Regions from separate parts of the Homo sapiens genome. Here region 1 is linked to region 2. The links are contacts of gene promoters, found by promoter capture Hi-C in human tissues and cell types (Jung and others, 2019). All regions are on one chromosome and are shown on one strand. Each heading gives the region's core, a stretch centred on a gene start or on the middle of the fragment in contact. The rest is flanking DNA. Distances are from core to core; before and after follow the strand shown.

Region 1 (2,763 bases), core at 183-2,682, 83 kb before region 2:
AAGAATCTTTACTATAGCTGGGGAGATGAGACTTATAGAAGAATATTGAGAGAACACTCTGAGCAAAGATATAATCAGGTATGCAGTTGTATGCTATGAGGTAAAATGTGGATTGAGAAAAAGTACGTGGTAATATCTGTGGGCCTGACTCATCAGAGAATGTTTCATGAAGGAGGTCAGACTTGAGTTGGCCTCTGAAGAATAGCTGTGATTGGGATTTGTGGAGAAGAGGAAAAGAAAGGGCATTCCAGGTAGAGGATGTAACGTGAACAAAGACATGGGGACCAGAATGAGGATGGTGCCTGGGGAGAAGGGCCTGGATGGAGTGTAAAATCTGTGCTGGGGAAGTCACTGGGGCTAGGCTAGGAGGGGGCAGGCTGAGAGATGGCCTTGAATGCTCAGCCGAAGAATTGAGACGCAGTCCCAGAAAGGGCTCTTTTGATCAGAAGAGTGATAGGAGGAGTTGGGTATGTTGCAAGGTTCCTTGGAATGAATGGATAGGATGTGTACTGGAAGGTGCAAGAAGAAGACTTCAGGCCAGGCACGGTGGCTCATGCCTGTAATCCCAGTACTTTGGGAGGCCCAGGCAGGCAGATCACCTAAGATCAGGAGTTCGAGACCAGCCTGGTCAACATGGTGAAATCCCGTCTCTACTAAAAATACAAAAATTATCTGGGTGTGGTGGCATGTGCCTGTAATCCCAGCTACTTGGGGGGCTGAGGCAAGAGAATCACTTGAACCTGAGAGGTGGAGGTTGCAGTGAGCCGAGATCGCATCATTGCACTCCAGCCTGGGCAACAGAGTGAGACTCTGTCTCAAAAAAAAAAGAAGACTTGAGACGGGGAGCCTGGCCAGTAGACTCTTGAAGTGATATACACATGTGGTAGAACAACTTGAAATGTTATTTGGGAACAACAACAGCAACAGCAAAAAACCTCAATGAGTGTTTATAGAATGCCTATCTTGTGCTAAGACTATTTTTTTCTTTTCTTTTCTTTCTTTTTTTTTTTTTTTTTGAGATGGAGTCTCGCTCTGTCATCCAGGCTGGAGTGCAGTGGTGCAATCTTGGCTCACTGCAACTTCCACCTCCCAGGTTCAAGCAATTCTCCTGCCTCAGCCTCCTGAGTAGCTGGGATTACAGGCATCCACTACCACGCTCAGCTATTTTTTTTTGTATTTTTGCTAGAGATGGGGTTTCACCATGTTGCCAGGCTGGTCTAGAACTCCTGACCTCAAGTGATCCACCCACCTTAGCCTCCCAAAGTGCTGGGATTACAGGTGTGAGCCACCGCACCCAGCCCTATTTTTCATTTTTGTAACAGAAAAATAGCTAATGCAGAATTGAAAAATTCCTAACCATTAAGGTTATGAGACACTAAAATAGAGTATCATCTTATGCAACTTATTCCCCAGACTGGAAGTCTGGTTAGTGACACGAGGAATGAATGAAATAACCTGCTAACGTTTCTTTCAGGTCAGGGACCCAAGGTTTATACTGACCCCCTCTCCTCACCTCCCTCATGCCTTGACCTCTGACCCTCTTATCTTTGGAGGTTTTCACACCAGACACTGCAGCAGACACCCATGATAAGTACCATGACTCCAATGAGTGCCCAGGGCGTCCAGGCAGGCGTCCGTTCAACAGCCATCCTACCTGAGCAGCAGCAGCAGCAGCAACAGCAGCAACAGCAACAGCAGCAGCAGCAGCAACAGCAACAGCAGCAGCAGCAGCAGCAGTACCACATCCGGCAGCAGCAGCAGCAGCAGATCCTGCGGGTAAGGCACTGGGATTTCATCTGGGACCTGGGAGCCCAGGGAGGAAGAGAGGCACAAGTTCTTCCCACACAGTTACCGAGACTAAACAAGGCAGTGTACCAAAACACCTAGCAGAGCGGCTGGCCTCTAGTGGTGCTGGAGAAGTTTTCTACCCTCCCCCTTTTTGTTTTCTGGGGATCATAGTGGGAGAGAGTTGGACATTGTCTGCTGGGTACCCTAGATTTGGTTTCTTTCTGTGCAGCTGTCTAAAAAGGGAAGGCAGTAGACCCCGAGCTCCCACCCTGCTTCCTCATCCCCTGCCCTCAGCCCTTTAGTTCTGAGGCTTAGCTTCCTCCCTCTGCTCCTTCTGAAGTATCTTTTGTGTTCTTATAGCAGCAGCAGCAACAGCAACAGCAGCAGCAGCAGCAGCAGCAACAGCAACAGCAGCAGCAGCAACAGCAACAACAGCAACACCAGCAGCAACAGCAGCAACAGGCGGCTCCTCCCCAACCCCAGCCCCAGTCCCAGCCCCAGGTAGCTGCTGGACTACAGCCCCAGGCTCAGGGACAGCTGCCCAGGTTGGGCACGCAGCCAGTGAACTGGGTTGGGGACAGTATGGAATAGGGTAGAGGTGGGAGGCAGGGCATGGCACCCTAAAAATGGATTGGGAGGCCAGGCGCAGTGGCTCACGCCTGTAATCCCAGCACTTTGGGAGGCCAAGGCAGGTGGATCACTTGAGGTCAGGAGTTCAAGACCAGCCTGGCCAAGATGGTGAAACCCCGTCTCTACTAAAAATACAAAAAATAATAATAATAAATAAGCCGGGCATGGTGGCAGGTGCCTGTTATCTCAGCTACTCAAGAGGCTGAGGCAGAGAATTGCTTGAACTTGGGAGGCAGAGGTTGCAGTGAGCCAAGATCATGCCACTGCACTCCAGCCTGGGGGACAGAGCGAGACTCCATCTCAAAAAAAAAAACGGATTGGGAAAGGAGGTTGAAGAAGGAGAAA
Region 2 (2,700 bases), core at 201-2,700:
TTGCAATATGCACTTGGGGTTGGGGGCTGGGCAGCAATGGGGTCTCAGACAGACCCTATAGGTCAACAACAGCATTGGGGACTGCTCAAGGTGGCTCACACCTGTAAACCCAACACTTTGGGAGGCAAAAGTGGGAAGATCGCTTGAGCCCAGGAGTTCAAGACCAGCCTGGGCAACATAGCAAGCCCCCCATCTCTACAAAAAAAAAAAATTGAAAAATTAGCTGGGCATGGTGACACATACCTGTGGTCCCAGCTAATTGAGAGGCTGAGGTGGGAGGATCGCTGGAGCCCAGGAGGTCAAGGCTGCAGTGAGCAGTGATTGTGCCACTGCACTCTAGCCTTAGTGATATAGCCAGACCTTGTCCCCACCCTCTAATAAAAAACAACCCACAGCATTAGGGAGAAAAAGGAGAGATCTTGGGTTTGACAGACCATTTATTCCCCCAAAGCAACTTTGTTATCTTTTCCTGAGAAGATTTTTTTTTTTTTTTGAGACGGAGTCTTGCTCTGTCGCCCGGACTGGAGTGCAGTGGTGCAATCTTGGCCCACTGCAACCTCTGCCTCCTGGGTTCCAGTGATTCTCCCACCCAGCAGCTGGGATTACAGGCATGCGCCACCACACACGGCTAATTTTTTGTATTTTTAGTAGAGATGGGGTTTCACATTGTTAGCCAGGATGGTCTTGATCTCCTGACCTCAAGTGATCTGCCCACTTCAGCCTCCTAAAGTGCTGGGATTACAGGCGTGAGCAACGGCGCCCAGCCTTTTTTTTTTTTTTTTTTTAATGGTTAGCCTTTGCTTTCTACAGACACTATCTGCAGAAGCACAGGGAGCCTGCTGTAGAAAGACTTCTGTCTCAGATACATTGTTTCATCCTACCTATCCTACCGCTTTGGAACGGTGTGACCTTGAGGAGTTACTTATCTGAGCTTCAGCTTCTTCATCTGGAAAATGGGATAACAGGCTTCCTAAATGGGTCGAAAGAAAAAATGTATGGAACAACGCTCAGCACAGTTTGTGGCTTCATAAATGAGCTCTCTTTCCTGTCCTCTTTCCTCTCCATATTCCGGAGAGGATCTAAGCCTCAGGGAAAATCCTGGTGACCTTAAGCTTCTGACGGGGCCATGGGGGAGGGCCTCAGCCCAGAGCCTCTGGGTCCCCTGGGGTCCCCTCTTCACATCCACCTGCCTGTGTTTTATCTCCCTCCCCCCGCCCCCCCGTGGCCATTCTTCTGGTGGGGCTATGGGGCGGGTGCGGCGATGGACCGGGCGGGCACAGAACAGGTGGGTGCAGGCTGGGTGTCCGGCGCTGGGACACAAGTGCTCTGTGTGTAGGGTGGGCGGAAGTCAGGGCGTTTGATCTGAATTCTAAAGGGCGTTGTTCAGAGCCCCACAAAGGTCTCATTGTGCAGACACTGGGTATAAAGCAGCATATGACTCCCCAGCACCGGGCGGTGATGAATTGGGACGCAGGCGCGGAGCCCAGGGACCACTCCCCCTGCACAGACATGAGACCATAGGGGACCTGTCTGGGTGGCCTCAGGGATAGGCGCTCCCCAAGGTAAGAGGGCTTTGTTGAGTTTGCCCCAGGTCTGGAGTTAAGGAGCTAGGGGACAGGGAGCCATAGGGGATGGCTGATATCGGAACAAGATGGGCTTGGCAAAGAAAGGGGCTGGCGGGAAAAGAATGTTGGATGAAAGCGAAGAAGGGGGATGGGGCTCAGGGAGGTCAAGTCAAGTGAGTGAGGAGGAGGAGAAGCTGGCAAGGGAGATGGGGTGACGAGGAAAGACATGACCATCCTTCCTTTCCTGCTACTGGCTCTTGGAAGAGTTGAGGGGGGGTGCGCAGGCAGTGCTATGGCGCCCGACTTTCCACCCCAGCTTTCTGACAGCTTGCTTCATGGCTGGTGTTTTGCAGGTGTGAATGAGGCAGGATGAACTGGACAGGTTTGTACACCTTGCTCAGTGGCGTGAACCGGCATTCTACTGCCATTGGCCGAGTATGGCTCTCGGTCATCTTCATCTTCAGAATCATGGTGCTGGTGGTGGCTGCAGAGAGTGTGTGGGGTGATGAGAAATCTTCCTTCATCTGCAACACACTCCAGCCTGGCTGCAACAGCGTTTGCTATGACCAATTCTTCCCCATCTCCCATGTGCGGCTGTGGTCCCTGCAGCTCATCCTAGTTTCCACCCCAGCTCTCCTCGTGGCCATGCACGTGGCTCACCAGCAACACATAGAGAAGAAAATGCTACGGCTTGAGGGCCATGGGGACCCCCTACACCTGGAGGAGGTGAAGAGGCACAAGGTCCACATCTCAGGGACACTGTGGTGGACCTATGTCATCAGCGTGGTGTTCCGGCTGTTGTTTGAGGCCGTCTTCATGTATGTCTTTTATCTGCTCTACCCTGGCTATGCCATGGTGCGGCTGGTCAAGTGCGACGTCTACCCCTGCCCCAACACAGTGGACTGCTTCGTGTCCCGCCCCACCGAGAAAACCGTCTTCACCGTCTTCATGCTAGCTGCCTCTGGCATCTGCATCATCCTCAATGTGGCCGAGGTGGTGTACCTCATCATCCGGGCCTGTGCCCGCCGAGCCCAGCGCCGCTCCAATCCACCTTCCCGCAAGGGCTCGGGCTTCGGCCACCGCCTCTCACCTGAATACAAGCAGAATGAGATCAACAAGCTGCTGAGTGAGCAGG

Evidence for each region. The method cuts DNA at HindIII sites, captures the fragments that hold promoters and counts their contacts. A contact is called where the count stands out against the background at its distance.
Region 1: a fragment that was not itself captured here is called in contact with the fragment with the promoter of GJB1 in region 2 in 2 of the 25 tissues and cell types used here (adrenal gland and neural progenitor cells).

What each region holds. Positions count from the first base shown.
Region 1 is chrX:71,139,082-71,141,844 of GRCh38, forward strand. MED12 (mediator complex subunit 12) reads left to right here. Exons shown (of 45, transcript NM_005120.3): 42 at 1,554-1,776; 43 at 2,149-2,289. Among named protein-coding and RNA genes, the nearest start is that of NLGN3, 4.4 kb to the right of the region's middle. The HindIII fragment of the contact is 7,777 bases long and covers 1-2,763 here.
Region 2 is chrX:71,221,774-71,224,473 of GRCh38, forward strand. GJB1 (gap junction protein beta 1) reads left to right here and starts at 1,451. Exons shown (of 2, transcript NM_000166.6): 1 at 1,451-1,562; 2 at 1,919-2,700. The coding sequence starts at 1,935. The HindIII fragment of the contact is 28,615 bases long and covers 1-2,700 here.